Linked DNA regions of Homo sapiens: regions 2, 3 and 4 are each linked to region 1. The links are contacts of gene promoters, found by promoter capture Hi-C in human tissues and cell types (Jung and others, 2019). All regions are on one chromosome and are shown on one strand. Each heading gives the region's core, a stretch centred on a gene start or on the middle of the fragment in contact. The rest is flanking DNA. Distances are from core to core; before and after follow the strand shown. Region 1 holds the start of ZNF625-ZNF20 (ZNF625-ZNF20 readthrough (NMD candidate)). Region 2 overlaps ZNF763 (zinc finger protein 763). Region 3 overlaps ZNF563 (zinc finger protein 563). Region 4 overlaps ZNF69 (zinc finger protein 69).

Region 1 (3,619 bases), core at 360-2,859:
GTTTAAGCTAAATTTACTGTTAAATTCATAAACCCGCAGGGCGCGGTGGCTCACGCCTGTAATCCCAGCACTTTGGGAAGCCGAGGCGGACGGATCACGAGGTCAGGAGATCGAGACAATCCTGGCTAACACGGTGAAACCCCGTCTCTACTAAAAATACAAAAAATTAGCCGGGCGTGGTGGCAGGCGCCTGTAGTCCCAGCTACTTGGGAGGTTGAGGCAGGAGAATGGCATGAACCCGGGCGGGAGGCGGAGCTTGCAGTGAGCCGAGATTGCGCCACTGCACTCCAGCCCGGACGACAGAGCGAGACTCCGTCTCAAAAAAAATGATAATAAATACAATAAAATAAAATAATAAATAAAAATTCATAAACCCTTTCTCCAGGAGGCATCCCAAATGGGTCTTGCTCTAATTCTGACCTTCACAGATTTTCTTTTTCTTTTTCTTTCTTTTTTTTTTTTGAGACAGTCTAGCCCTGTCGCCCAGGCTGGAGTGCAGTGGCGCAATCTCGGCTCACTGCAAGCTCCGCCTCCCGGGTTCACGCCATTCTCCTGCCTCAGCCTCCCGAGTAGCTGGGACTATAGGCGCCCGCCACCGCACCCGACTAATTTTTTGTATTTTTAGTAGAGACGGGGCTTCTCCGTGTTAGCCAGGATGGTCTTGATTTCCTGACCTCGTGATCCGCCCGCGTCGGCCTCCCAAAGTGCTGGGATTATAGGCGTGAGCCACCGCTCCCGGCCGTAAAGATTTTTAAATAATAAAAACAGGGGTCTAGGGTGGGGGGATGTGGGAGGGATAACATTAGGAGATATACCTAATGTAAATGACGAGTTAATGGGTACAGCACACCAACATGGCGCATGTATACATATGTAACAAACCTGCACATTGTGCGCATGTACCCTAGAACTTAAAGTTTAATAAATAAAAATTAAAAAAAAAAAACAACAAAACAGGGGTATTCTTGTGTTGACCAAGTTGGTCTTTAACTCTTTACTTTAAGGGATCCTCCAGTCTTGGCCTCCCAAAGTGCTAGGATTACAGGCGTGAACCACCGCACCCTGCCTGTGTTCAGGTCACAATCTCTTCTAGCTTGGATAAAGGGAAAGAAATAAAGGGGGAGAGGGCATGGTTTCATCAATGGAGATTCTCTGCAGATGCAAATTCCCCCCCTCCAAAGACAGCTTTGCCAGTCCACTTTTTTTTGCGGCCGAGCCACAGCCATTTCAAAATCTGTCAAATAAATATATTTTGGCGTAAAATATTTTAATTTCCTTCACCTCCACTGGACTCTGAGTCTGGAATTTCCTGTGCAAGACAAAGGAGCAGGGACAGCCCATTGAGTGAGGAAGACAACGGTACCCCCTCTAGCAATTCGGAGCAAATTTGGCTGAAATGCAAATACCCAAAGAGCAAGACGCAGGGAGGGAGCTCGCTTAGATAATCTGTGGTTGGAACAGGTCATTTCGGTTCTGCCGGGCCTTGTTACCCAGGGCTTCCGCTGTCACTCAGGACCGATGGGACGGGGACTGGAGCCTCATCCAATCAGGGGCGCTGGGGCGGGGTCCTGCCAACTGTCCATCCGGGGAAGGGGAGGCCGCATTCCCGCTTTCCTGACTCCCAGGCGTCTTGCACCAAAGGGAGGTCGGGATCTCGGTTTTCCGGCCCCGAGAGGGACCAGGTGCCTCCGCCATAGCTTCTGTCGCTCCATCGCCCGCACTGTGACTGGACTGTTAGAGGGATCCGTGGAGAGGAGGCCAGGACACCTGGAAGCCGGGAAATGGTGAGTGTGCGGGGCCGGGGGTCCCGAGACGGGGGAGGGGCCGGGAGGAACCGGCTCGAACCGGCTCTAGCAGGACCCAGGCCTTCCTGCAGCGACTTCGGGTCTGCAGAGCGGAGTCCCCCTGGCGTAGCTCGGCCCTCGGTCCCTTCGGCCGCAGGGTGGGGTTGGGCCGGCAGCCGGGACCCCAGGCGTCCTGTCCCGTCTCTGCGCTGCGACTGCGACCCCGGCCCTGGCCCCGGCCCCGGAGCCCTCTCTGGGGAGCTCCGCGCCCGTAGTCCCGCGTCTCCCCAGATTGTGCGGAGACCACGGGAGGGTCATGGAGGCAATCCTGCCTCGGGTGTGTGGTTCGTGTGGGAGGAGCGGTGGGCTGCGGGGTCCCCAGTCCCCCCTTTTTTCCTGAAAAACTAAATTGAAGGCCAGGCGCAGTGGGTCACGCCTGGCAGGTTGAGGCGGGGGGATTGCTTCAGCCCAGAAATTCGAGACCAGCCTAGGCAACATACCGAGACCCTAGTTTCTATTAAAAATAAATTTTTAAAAAATGAGCCGGGCGTGGTGCCGCCCACCTGTAATCCCAGCTACTGGGGGGCTGAGGTGGGAGGATCGCTTGAGGGAGGAGATTGGGACTGCAGTGAGCCGAGATCGCGCCACTGCACTCCAGCCTGGGCGACTGAGCGAGACCCTGTCTCAAACAAAACAAAACAAAAACAACAGCAACAAACTAAACTGAGTCCTCTTAAAAATTAAAGAGTTTTGCTTCTCAGAATAGGAGTTTGAAAAAAATGAATGAGAAATGTTTCCTGAATGAGAAACACCCAGTCATGGCTTGCAGTTTGATAACGGAAAGAGCAAAACTCTGCAAAATAACTTGAACTATGTTCTACGCCGAATATGAGAGAACGTGACCAAGGGAAACAACCGCATGTAGCCTCGAGTAAGTGGTCCCCAGGAGGTTCGATGGCAGTTTGGTTTTATTCATTTCAGCGAGACAGGAATTGCAGGGAAAAGATCAATCAAGGCATGGAAGGCTGACAGGGCAGGACACGTAGAAGCGGGGCTTAGAAGGCACAGGTGGTTGAGGGATTCTGTAGTTGGCAGTTGGCTGAGAGTGTGAAGTTGTGTCTAAAATTTGAAAGGGGTAGGAAGGAATGTTTAAGTGAAGGGAGTCTGTTACCTGCCACGTGATTCCATCCCCACCAAAAAACAGATATGTTTCACTAGATTTTATGAATTCTAAGGCGTGACTTTACCCTTGCCTTGCATGGCCTTAGGTCTTGTTTGCAATTTAGTATTTATTGGTACAAAGGGTTTCTTTGCAGGTTTTTTTTTTTTTTTGAGATGGAGCCTCACTCTCGCCCAGGCTGGAGTGCAGTGGCGCAATCTCGGCTTACGGCAACCTCCGCCTCCTAGGTTCAAGCAATTCTCCTGCCTCAGCCTCCCAAGTAGCTGGAATTACAGGTGCACGCCACCATACCCGGCTAATTTCTGTATTTTTAGTAGAGATGGGGTTTCACCATGTTGGCCAAGCTGGTCTCAAACTCCTGACCTCAAATAATCCGCCTGCCTCCGCCTCCCTCCGCCTCCCAAAGTGCTAGGATTACAGGACTGAGCCACTGTGCCCGGCCTCTTTGCAGGTCTTATGTCTATTTTAATATGAATGTGGGTCAGTTGCTGTGTCTAAACTCCAGAAGGGAGTATGGAGTGTCTGATCTCCCTTACTAATGTAACTGGGAACTTTCAGGTTTTTGGGGGGCCTCCCCTTGGTAAAGAGCCACTCAGTTGACTTGATTGGGGTGGGATGGGGAGCTTAGGTTTTTATTTTTAGTTTACAGGTTGAA
Region 2 (3,944 bases), core at 600-3,099, 170 kb after region 1:
TATGTCACATTTAAATATTATGTTTTTAGAGAAAATTTTCTAAGAGTAAATAAATGTGATGCTGGTCTTATTTCTTTTATTTGCATATTTTAAACATTTTCAGCCGGGCACAATGGCTCACGCCTGTAATTGCAGCACTTTGGGAGGCCAAGCCAGGCGGATCACCTGAGGACAGGAGTTCGAGACCAGCCCGACCAACATGGAGTAACCCCATCTCTACTAAAAATTCAAAATTAGCCAGACGTGGTGGTGGGCGCCTGTAATCCCAGCTACTTGGGAGGCTGAGGCAGGAGAATCACTTGAACCTGGGAGGCGGAGGTTGCGATGAGCCGCGATTGAGCCATTGCACTCCAGTCTGGGCAACAAGAGTGAAACTCTTGTCTCCAAAAAAACCAAAACATTTTCAGGCAGTATAAGATTTTCTAGAGAGAGAATGCTTTATCTTGTGAGGGAAACTTACCTTAGATTATTCCTGAGATTTTTGTACTGATCTTCAATGATCTGGTCTTTCCATTTTTTTCTTAAAATACAGATCCATAAAAAATAGTCCTGATTATAAAATTATGGGGTTTTTTTTGGAGATGAGGGTCTCACTCTATCACCCAGGCTGGAGTGCAATGGCATGATCACAGCTCACTGCAGCCTCAACCTCTTGGGTTCAGGTGATTCTCCTACTGCAGCCTCTCAAGTAGCTGGGATTACAGGTGCATGTCACCATCCTGGCTAAAAAGTTTGTAGAGATAGGGTTTCACCATGTTGCCCAGGCTGTTCTCAGACTCCTGGGTTCAAGTCATCCACCCACCTTGGCCTCTCAAAGTGCTAGAACCACAGGCATGAGCCACCATGCCCAGCTATTATAAAATTAGTTTAAAAATTATTAGATTCTATGTTCATGGCTCACTGCAGCCATTCCTGATTTATCAAAGTTTTCCCTGTCCATATTCCAAATCACTGAACAGCACTGAAGAGCTAGAAACACTTGTTCTTTAATAAACTGAGGGAAGTAATATTGTCACGTGATAGTTTGAATGTATGTTCCCACCCAATGTCATGAGGAACTGCAATCCCCAGTGTTGGAGGTGAGTCCTGATGGGAGTTGTTTGGGTCAGGGGGACCTATGGCTTGTTTCTCTCATGGCTTGTTGCTGTCTTTGTGATAATCAGTGAGTTCTAGTGAGCTGCACCTTCCTACACCACTCTCTCTGTCTCACTCCTGCTTTCGCCATGTGACTGCCTGCTCCCCGTTCACCTTCCGCTATGATTGAAAGCTTCCTGAGGCCTTCACCAGAAGCTGAGCAGATGCTGGTGCCATGCTTCCTTTACAGGCAGATGCCAGGCAGACGTCACTGTGAATCACTGTGCCCAGCAATGAATAATTCTTTACAAGGGGACAAACCCTGTCTGGACATGGTGACTCATGCCTGGAATCCTAGCACTTTGGGAGACTGAGCTGTGAGGACTGCTTGAGACAAAGAATTAGAGAACAGCCTGGGCAACACAGCATAATCCTGACTCTATTACTTAAAATTCTAAATAAAAGTCTGAAAAGCAGCATTTCCCACCTATTCTCTCTGAGGGAGCCTTCATCTACATAACAAGGTCTCCTTTGCTAGCCAAGCTTCTTCCTTTCCTTTAGCATAATCTGTCTTGCCATTAAAAATGACTTCCCCACCAAACCTGGAATTTTTTTGGCCATGCCAAGTCTGCATTTTTCCTGGCCTCAGAATGGTATGTAAGCTTTTTTGTCTTATTGTTGGGTGGGTCCTCATTCTGAAGGCTCCCATATATACATGTTAAATAAATTTGTATGACTTTTCTCCTATTAATTCGCCTAAGTTCCTTGATCTGAAAATTTTTTTCCTGTTTTCTCACCTTATTTTATTAAAAAAAGTTCAAAAACAAGCATATCTAAAAATGAGCATTTTCATATCCCAGAAATCAAGGTATTTTCCATAGATAACCAGAAAATGCTATTTAGTAATTGCCTAACATCAACACAGAGTGATATTAAAACCTTATTGTGTAAAGTGGAATTCTGGAAGCTTAGCTTTGAATACATTTCATTTTGTCTGTGAAACATTGAAGAGTGTGTGTGGTGTTATGATATGTATTGGTTTTCATCCAGGGTAATAATGTTGGGTGTGTTAGACCTCTGGGGAAGGCCCCTGACCTGCTGCCCTCTTTCCACTCTAATGTTTCCCCACCTTTTTGATTGTGGGTCTTAAAACCCTCCCATGAGAGGGTCCCACTGACTTCATGAAGACTTTTAGCCTTGGAAATACTCGTGATATTCCCTATCTGTAGCTGTGTGTCTGAAGTTAGCTCAGAATAAACCACAAGTGTGTAGATTGCTAAAATAACTTACTTCTAAACACTGAAACTCAAAAACTGCAGATTTCTTTGTCTAAGCAGATGCAGAAAAGCAGAAGTTATAAAGCATCCGGACTCAAACAGGCACCATCACTGCCTTCTAAAATTAGTAGCCTTCCTGGCATATGAACACCCTTTGGGCCTGTGCTCCAGTGTCTCTTTGGGTTGGTCCTTGGGCTTTTTGTGAAACATCAAGACACCTCCATAGTCTAGGCCAATGTCAGGCTCTCCAGTGTGTCCTGTTCATCACCCTCACCCTGCACTTTCATTGTCACTGTCATTGGCCATTCCAACATTGTGCTTGCATCCTGTGGAAAGTCACATTTGGGGTCAAGTGGATGGTGTTGTTTCTACTGTTTGGTTAAAAGTGTCAGGGTGTATTTGGCCTTCAAGGGAGGATAAGGCAGGGGTTGGATTCAGGTGCACCCAACTCTTGTTTTTTTCATTTTGAGACAGAGTCTTGCTCTGTCGACTAGGTTGGAGAGTGCAATGGTGTGATCTCAGTTCAGTGTAACAACCACCTCCCAGGCTCAAGCGATTCTCCTGCCTCAGCCTCCTGAGTATCTGGGATTACAGGGATTACACCACGATGCCCAGCTAATTTATCTATTTCTTAAGGTTTCACCATGTTGGCCAGGCTGGTCTTGAACTCCTGACCTCAAGTGATCCACTCTCCTTGGCCTCCCAAAGTGCTAAGATTACAGGTGTGAGCCACCGTACCTGCTCAGGTGCCCCCACCTCTGTCACTGCCCTGTCTTCCCTGCTGTGAATCATGCTGTGTGATCTGACAATCAATGATTCCACCCTTCACTGATGTGGATACATTATCTGGGACTGGGTATGTCATCTCCACACACAGACAGGGTTTGGTCAGTGATTGATGCTGCATCCCGTGATGCCTGGACTTTGACCTTAGGGAGTTTTAAATAAGCGTTTCTGAAGAGCAGCTTCATTGGAACCTTAATGAAAATGAATTTTTCCATGCCATTGCATAACATATAAAAGTGACTTTTCCATGTTGCCATTAACTTTACATGGCTGAAATAAACAGGCTGTTGACAAGTTAGTATCAACAGCACATTATCAGAGAAAGAAAAGGCTGTATTTAGACAATTTACATTATTATTGTAATTTATTAGCTTCCTGTGACTCACTAAACCAACCTGAAAAAAATAGCTTTCTAAGGTATAAATGAATTTCTATGTTTTACCCAACGTACTTTCTGGTAAACAGCACCCATACATTTTATGAAATATTTTAGTCTTTAGAGAATAAGGCAAAAACAGCTCCAGGAGTCTAGAGCTGACATCCCCTCACCACAAGGCCAAGTCTTTTTTTTTTTTTTTTTTGAGACGGAGTTTTGCTCCTGTTGCCCAGGCTAGAGTGCAATGGCACAATCTTGGCTCACTGCAACCTCTGCCCCCCAGATTCAAGCGATTCTCCTGTGCCAGCCTCCCAACTAGCTAGGATTACAGAAGCAGGCCACCACGCCTGGCCAATTTTTGTAGTTTTAGTAGAGACAGGGGTTTCATCATATTGATCAGGCCAGTCTTGAACTCCTGACCTCAGGTGATT
Region 3 (4,085 bases), core at 725-3,224, 160 kb before region 1:
GGAGGCTGAGGTGGGAAGATCTCTTGAGCCCAAGGGGTGGGGGTTGCAGTGAGCCAAGATGCACTGCACCCCAGCCTGGGCGACAGAGCCAGACCCTGTCTCAAAAAAAAAAAAAAAGTACATGAAAGGATTCACTCTGGAGAGAAGTCATATGAATGTAAGAAATGTAGAAAAGCATTGAGTTCTCTCAGGTCCTTGCATAGACATAAAAGGACTCACTGGAGAGATACTCTATAAATGTGTGAAATGTAGGGAAGTATTCTTTAATGTTATTTCATTTCAGATAGAAATAATTCTCATTGGAGATAAACCCTATGAATGTAAACACATAGTAAAGCCTTAATTTTAAGCCTCAGTTTCTTTCAAATACAGTTATCCCCTAATATTTGCAGGAGCGTGGTTCTACCACCCCCTGGGCATACATAAATCGACACATGCCAAGTCCTTTTTTAAAAATGACATATTTGGTACAAAATTACCCGGATGTGATGGCACATGCCTGTAATCCCAGCTACTCAGGAGGCTGAGGCAGGATAATCACTTGAATCCGGGAGGCGGAGGTTGCGGTGAGCCAAGATCGCGCCACTGCACTCCAGCCTGGGCAGCAAGAGCAAAACAACCTCTGTCACACACACAAAAAAAAAAAAAAAGGAAAGAAAGAAAAGACATATTTGGGTTAGACACAGTTGCTCACCTCTGTAATCCTAGCACCTTAGGAGCCCAAGACAGGTGGATCACTTGAGCCCAGGAGTTAGAGGCCAGCCTGGGTAATGTGGCAAAACCCTGTCTCTACAGAAGATACACAAATTAGCCAGGTGTGGTGACATGTACCTGTAGTCCCAGCTACTAGGGAAGCTGAGGTGGGAGGATCGCTTGAGCCTGGGAGGTTGAGGTTGCGGTGAGTCAAAATCACATCACTGCATTCTAGCATGGGCAACAGAATGAGACCCTGTCTCAAAAAAATAATAACAATAAAAAATATTTGCATGTAACCTACCCACATCCTCCTGTATACTCTAAATCATCTGTAGATTAGTTAAAATACATCATGCATCATAGAAGCTATGTAAATAGTTGTTATTATATTGTTTAGTGAATCATGATATGAGAAAGACCCTACACATATTCAGTACAGACCCACCCACATAATACATGTCACCTAGAGCATTATAAATCTTTTCTTTCAACACTCATAGATTGCTTTTGTTTAATGACCTGAAAATGTGTTAACATTCACCCAACAAAAGTGTAATGATGATTATTGCAATATCGTGCCTAATGTTGTGATGTGTTGAGTCAGCTAGATGTGTGACACCACAGATAAGCAGTGAGACCTCAGGCTAACTCGAATCTTGACAGGATGTCAACATGATCAACTATATTGGAAGAAACAGATTCTGACTGCAGATACTGAATTTTTGGAGCAGTCTAAATAATACTAATGTCAGAATCTGTTCAATTTGAGGACTGAAGATCTTTAAGCATTGAAGGCTGTCTTCATATTTGCAGATATTTAATTAGAAACATTGTAGGAAGCTAGTTTTTTTTTTTTTAAACTTTGCAACGTTTGTGAGCATGTAATCTCTGGGGTGACATGGAGGCTTTGTTCCATGGAAGAATCTTAATTGAGGATGATAATCTTTAACACTTGCGCCTTGTAGAAGCTGTAGGTGCCCTAAAACTGCTTCCAATTTTTCTTTTTTTTTCTTTTTCTTTTCTTTTTTTTTTTTTTTAAGACAAGATCTCACTCTGTCACCCTACAGTGCATGGCTCACTGCAGCCTCAACTTCCTGGGCTCAAGTGATCTTCCCACCTCAGCCTCCCAAGTAGCTGGGATTATAGGCACACATCACGATGCCTGGCTACTTTTTGTGTTTTTTGTGGAGACAAGGTTTCACCATGTTTCCCAGGCTGGTCTTGAACTCCTGGAATCAAGAGATCTGCCTGCCTTGGCCTCCCAAATTACTAGGATTACAGGGTGAGCCACCACACCCAGCCTTCAGATTTTTCAAGTATCAAAATCTATAGCACTGCTTCTTTTTTTTTTTTTCAGACAGAGTCTCACTCTGTCGCTGAGGCTGAAGTGCAGTGGTGCAATCTCAGCTCACTGCAGCCTCCACCTCCCAGGTTCAAGTGATCCTCCTGCATCAGCCACCTGAGGAGCTGGGATTACAATCTCAGCTCACTGCAACCTCCACCTCCCAAGTTCAAGTGATCCTCCTGCCTCAGCCACCCAAGTAGCTGGGAATACAGGCATGCACCACCATGCCCAGCTAATTTTTGTATTTTTAGTAGAGACAGGGTTTCGCCATGTTTGCCAAGCTGGTTTTGAACTCCCTGTGACTTCAAGTGATCTGCCTGCCTTGGCCTCTCAGAATGCTGGGATTACAGGCATGAGCCACCACTTATGGCACTGCCTCTTTATTTATTTATTGAGACTGAGTCTCACTCTGTCACCCAGGCTGGAGTGCAGTGGCACGATCTCGGCTCACTGCAAACACTGCCTCCTGGGTTCAAGCGATTCTCATGCCTCAGCCTCCCAAGTAGCTGGGATTACAGGTGCCCGCCACCACACCCAGCTAATTTTTGTATTTTTAGTAGAGACGGGGTTTCACCATGTTGGCCAGGCTGGTCTTAAACTCGTGACCTCAGGTGATTCACCCGCTTCGGCCTCCCAAACTGTTGGGATTACAGGCGTGAGCCACCACGCCTGGCGGCACTGCCTCTTCTAAATCTACATCATCATCATCATCATCTATAGAGGATTTCAGCATATCTTCTAGTTCCTTGTTAGTAAAGGTTTCTTCTTTGCTCTTCTGTGTGTTCCTCAACATTGTCTTCACTTGTGTCAGAGATAGCCTTCCCCACCAACTTTCCTTACATTTAAGATATTTCTGACTATCATATCGATAGTGCAGAAGCGCCTGAAATCATTGACTTCCTCACTCCATAATGGCTTCCAACACACTTTGGCTGTCTTGAGCTGTAGGGCATTTACAGCCTCCGCAATAAACACAATCGTTTCTGCAGTTGGGAAGCTCTTCCATAAATCCTGTATGACATGGTGAGGGTTATTATCAAGACAGCATAAATCCTTCCAAAAGTCCAGTGGGTGTAAGACACCTTGAGGCACTTGATGATGCTTTGATCAAGTAGTTGTAGCAGTGATGTAGTTTTAGGAGGCAGGAACATCACTTCCCCATTTTTATCGGCATAACAGAGAGAAGAGAGATGCCAGGAGCGTTGTCAGTTATGAGGAGGGCCTTGAGTGGCAGCCCCTTCTTTTCAAGGTATTCATTCACATCAGGAATGAAGCAGTGGTAGAACCAAGTCCTCGTGTGTTTTTGTCAGGACACGGGCAGGCAAGTTTCGCTTTTGTTTTCAAGGACCCACGGATTGTTTACTTAGTAGAGGAGGCTTTGTTTGATCTTATGACCTGCTGCATTGCCACGTAGCACCAGAGTAAGGCAATCTTTCCAAGTCATGAACCCCAAGGCTTTCTTTGTACTCTTGTGATGAAGGTACAATTGGGCATCCTCTTCCAGAACATGCCTGATTCATTACAATGGAGGATTTGCTCTGGAAGTTAGCCTCTTTTTTTTTTTTTTTTTTAATGAGTTTCATGAGCTTTTCTAGGAATGCTGATGTTTCCTTTGCATCAGCCAAGGCCAATTCTCCCATGTTCTTCAAGTTCTTGAAGCTCTAATGCATTGTGTAGCTAGCTAAGCCAGACCTTGCTGGCCTGAAACTCCTTCCTGTAGATCTTTTTTTTTTTTTTTGAGATGGAGTTTTGCTCTTGTTGCCCAGGCTGGAGTGCAATGGCGCTATCTTGGCTCACCACAATCTCTGCCTCCCAGGTTCAAGTGATTTCTTCTTCCTCAGCCTCCTGAGTAGCTGGGATTACAGGCATGTGCCACCACACCCAGCTAATTTTGTATTTTTAGTAGAGACAGGGTTTCTCCATATTGGTCAGGTTGGTCTCGAACCCCGTGATCCTCCCGCCTTGGCCTCCCAAAGTGCTGGGATTACAGGTGTGAGTCACCGTGCCCAGCCAAGGTAAATTCTATCTTATGTGAATTTTGGCA
Region 4 (3,959 bases), core at 742-3,241, 250 kb after region 1:
ATGGGGATGGCATGGAATCTACAAATTACCTTGGGCAGTATGGCCATTTTCATGATATTGATTCTTCCTATCCACGAGCATGGAATGTTCTTCCATTTGTTTGTGTCCTCTTTGATTTCGTTGAGCAGTGGTTTGTAGTTCTCTTTGAAGAGGTCCTTCACATCCCTTGTAAGTTGGATTCCTAGGTATTTTATTCTCTTTGAAGCAATTGTGAATGGGAGTTCACTCATGATTTGGCTCTCTGTTTGTCTGTTGTTGGTGTATAGGAATGCTTGTGATTTTTGCACATTGATTTTGTATCCTGAGACTTTGCTGAAGTTGCTTATCAGCTTAAGGAGATTTTGGGCTGAGATGATAGGGTTTTCTAAATATACAATCATGTCATCTGCAAACAGGGACAATTTGACTTCCTCTTTTCCTACTTGAATACCCTTTAGTTCTTTGTCCTTCCTGATTGCCCTGGCCAGAACTTCCAACACTATGTTGAATAGGAGTGGTGAGAGAGGGCATCCCTGTCTTGTGCCAGTTTTCAAAGGGAATGCTTCCAGTTTTTGCCCATTCAGTATATGATATTGACTGTAGGTTTGTCATAAATAGCTCTTATTATTTTGAGATACATCCCATCAATACCCAGTTTATTGAGAGTTTTTAGCATAAAGGGCTGTGGAATTTTGTCGAAGGCCTTTTCTGCATCTATTCAGATAATCTTGTGGTTTTTGTCTTTGGTTCTGTTTATATGATGGATTACGTTTATTGCTTTGCATATGTTGAATCAGCCTTGCATCCCAGGGATGAAGCCAACTTGATCGTGGTGGATAAGCTTTTTGATGTGCTGCTGGATTTGGTTTGCCAGTATTTTATTGAGGATTTTTGCATCGATGTTCATCAGGTATATTGGTCTAAAATTCTTTTTGTTGTGTCTCTGCCAGGCTTTGGTATCAGGATGTTGCTGGCCTCATAAAATGAGTTAGGGAGGATTCCCTCTTTTTCTATTGATTGGAATAGTTTAAGAAGGAATGGTACTAGCTCCTCTTTGTACCTCTGGTAGAATTCAGCTGTGAATCCATCTGGTCCTTGACTTTTTTTGGTTGGTAGTCTATTAATTATTGCCTCAATTTCAGAGCCTGTTATTGGTCTATTCAGGGATTCGACTTCTTCCTGGTTTAGTCTTGGGAGGGTGTATGTGTCCAGGAATTTATCCATTTCTTCTAGATTTTCTAGTTTATTTCCATAGAGGTATTTATAGTACTCTCTGATGGTAGTTTGTATTTCTGTGGGATCGGTGGTGATATCCCCTTTATCATTTTTTATTGCATCTATTTGATTCTTCTCTCTTTTCTTCTTTATTAGTCTTGCTGGCGGTCTATCAATTTTGTTGATCTTTTCAAAAAAACAGCTCCTGGATTCACTGATTTTTTGAAGGGTTTTTTCTGTCTCTGTCTCCTTCAGTTCTGCTCTGATCTTAGTTATTTCTTGCCTTCTGCTAGCTTTTGAATGTGTTTGCTCTTGCCTCTCTAGTTCTTTTAATTGTGATGTTAGGGTGTCAATTTTACATCTTTCCTGCTTTCTCCTGTGGGCATTTAGTGCTATAAATTTCCCTCTACAAACTGCTTTAAATGTGTCCCAGAGATTCTGGTATGTTGTGTCTTTGTTCTCATTGGTTTCAAAGAACATCTTTATTTCTGCCTTCATTTGTTATGTACCCAGTAGTCATTCAGGAGCAGGTTGTTCAGTTTCCATGTATTTGAGTGGTTTAGAGTGAGTTTCTTAATCCTGAGTTCTAGTTTGATTGCTCTGTGGTCCGAGAGACAGTTTGTTATAATTTCTATTCTTCTACATTTGCTGAGGAGTGCTTTACTTCCAACTATGTGGTCAATTTTGGAATAAGTGTGATGTGGTGCTGAGAAGAATGTATATTCTGTTGATTTGGGGTGGAGAGTTCTGTAGATGTCTATTAGGTCCTCTTGGTGCAGAGCTGAGTTCAATTCCTGTATATCCTTGTTAACTTTCTGTCTCATTGATCTGTCTAATGTTGACAGTGGGATGTTAAAGTCTCCCATTATTATTGTGTGGGAGTCTAAGTCTCTTTGTAGGTCTCTAAGGACTTGCTTTATGCATCTCAGTGCTCCTGTATTGGGTGCATAAATATTTAGGATAGTTAGCTCTTCTTGTTGAATTGATCCCTTTACCTTTATGTAATGGCCTTGTCTCTTTTGATCTTTGTTGGTTTAAAGTCTGTTTTATCAGAGACTAGGATTGCAACCCCTGCTTTTTTTGTTTGTTTTCCATTTGCTTGGTAGATCTTCCTCCATCCCTTTATTTTGAGCCTATGTATGTCTCTGCACGTGAGATGGGTCTCCTGAATACAGCACACTGATGGGTCTTGATTCTTTATCCAATTTGCCAGTCTGTGTCTTTTAATTGGAGCATTTAGCCCATTTACATTGAAGGTTAATATTGTTATGTGTGAATTTGATCCAGTCATTATGATGTTAACTGGTTATTTTGCTCGTTAGTTGATACAGTTTCTTCCTAGCCTCAATGGTCTTTACAATTTGGCATGTTTTTGCAGTGGCTGGTACCGGTTGTTCCTTTCCATGTTTAGTGCTTCCTTCAGGAGATCTTTTACAGCAGGCCTGGTGGTGACAAAATCTCTCAGCATTTGAATCTGTAAAGGATTTTATTTCTCCTTCACTTATGAAGCTTAGTATGGCTGGATATGAAATTCTGGGTTGAAAATTCTTTCCTTTAAGAATGTTGAATATTGGCCCCCACTCTTTTCTGGCTTGTAGAGTTTCTGCCAAGAGATCCGCTGTTAGTCTGACGGGCTTCCCTTTGTGGGTAACCCGACCTTTCTCTCTGGCTGCCCTTAACATTTTTTCCTTCATTTCAACTTTGGTGAATCTGACAATTATGTGTCTTGGAGTTGCTCCTCTCGAGGAGTATCTTTGTGGCGTTCTCTGTATTTCCTGAATTTGAATGTTGGTCTGCCTTGCTAGGTTGGGGAAGTTCTCCTGAATAATATCCTGAAGAGTGTTTCCCAACTTGGTTCCATCCCTGTCACTTTCAGGTACACCAATCAGACATAGATTTGGTCTTTTCACATAGTCCCATATTTCTTGGAGGCTTTTTCATTTCTTTTTACTCTTTTTTCTCTAAACTTCTCTTCTCACTTCATTTCATCCATTTGATCTTCAATTACTGATACCTTTTCTTCCACTTGATTGAATCAGCTACTGAAGCTTGTGCATGCATCACATAGTTCTCGTGCCATGGTTTTCAGCTCCATCGGGTCATTTAAGGTCTTCTCTACACTGTTTATTCTAGTTAGCCATTTTGTCTAATCTTTTTTCAAGGTTTTTAGCTTCTTTGTGATGGGTTCGAACATCCTCCTTTAGCTTGGAGAAGTTTGTTATTACCGATCATCTGAAGCCTTCTTCTCTCAGCTCGTCAAAGTCAAAGTCCAGCTTTGTTCCATTGCTGGCGAGGAGCTGCGTTCCTTTGGAGGAGAAGAGGCGCTCTGATGTTTAGAATTTTCAGCTTTTCTGCTCTGGTTTCTCCCCATCTTTGTGGTTTTATCTACTTTTGGTCTTTGATGATGGTGATGTACAGATGGGTTTTGGTGTGGTTGTCCTTTCTGTTTGTTAGTTTTCCTTCTAACAGTCAGGACCCTCAGCTGAGGTCTGTTGGATTTTGCTTGAGGTCCACTCCAGACCCTGTTTGCCTGGGTATCACCAGCAGGGGCTGCAGAACAGCAAATATTGCAGAACGGCAAATGTTGTTGCCTGATCCTTCCTCTGGAAGCTTCGTCACAGAGGGGCACACGGCCGTATGAGGTGTCAGTTGGCCCCTACTGGGAAGTGCCTCCCAGTTAGGCTACTTGGAGATCAGGGACCCACTTGAGGAGGCAGACTGTCCATTCTTAGATCTCAAACTCCATGCTGGGAGGACTGCTACTC

Evidence for each region. The method cuts DNA at HindIII sites, captures the fragments that hold promoters and counts their contacts. A contact is called where the count stands out against the background at its distance.
Region 2: a contact is called between a fragment that was not itself captured here and the fragment with the promoter of ZNF625-ZNF20 in region 1, in 1 of the 25 tissues and cell types used here (H1 embryonic stem cells).
Region 3: a fragment that was not itself captured here is called in contact with the fragment with the promoter of ZNF625-ZNF20 in region 1 in 3 of the 25 tissues and cell types used here (hippocampus, lymphoblastoid cells and mesenchymal stem cells).
Region 4: a fragment that was not itself captured here is called in contact with the fragment with the promoter of ZNF625-ZNF20 in region 1 in 1 of the 25 tissues and cell types used here (stomach).

The regions. Positions count from the first base shown.
Region 1 is chr19:12,154,721-12,158,339 of GRCh38, reverse strand. It overlaps ZNF625-ZNF20 (ZNF625-ZNF20 readthrough (NMD candidate)), which reads left to right and starts at 1,609. Exons shown (of 8, transcript NR_037802.1): 1 at 1,609-1,784. ZNF625 (zinc finger protein 625) reads left to right here and starts at 1,606. Exons shown (of 4, transcript NM_145233.4): 1 at 1,606-1,784. The coding sequence starts at 1,782. RefSeq lists enhancers at 1,580-1,689, 1,252-1,943 and a silencer at 1,920-2,089. The HindIII fragment of the contact is 11,402 bases long and covers 1-3,619 here.
Region 2 is chr19:11,980,156-11,984,099 of GRCh38, reverse strand. ZNF763 (zinc finger protein 763) reads right to left here. Exons shown (of 4, transcript NM_001367172.2): 4 at 3,483-3,944. It also overlaps a transcript of ZNF69 not described here. Among named protein-coding and RNA genes, the nearest start is that of ZNF433-AS1, 5.5 kb to the left of the region's middle. The HindIII fragment of the contact is 4,224 bases long and covers 1-3,944 here.
Region 3 is chr19:12,314,042-12,318,126 of GRCh38, reverse strand. ZNF563 (zinc finger protein 563) reads left to right here. Exons shown (of 4, transcript NM_145276.3): 4 at 1-650. Among named protein-coding and RNA genes, the nearest start is that of ZNF563, 18 kb to the left of the region's middle. The HindIII fragment of the contact is 6,161 bases long and covers 1-4,085 here.
Region 4 is chr19:11,906,321-11,910,279 of GRCh38, reverse strand. ZNF69 (zinc finger protein 69) reads right to left here. Exons shown (of 4, transcript NM_001364730.1): 4 at 3,584-3,959. Among named protein-coding and RNA genes, the nearest start is that of ZNF700, 17 kb to the left of the region's middle. The HindIII fragment of the contact is 5,350 bases long and covers 1-3,959 here.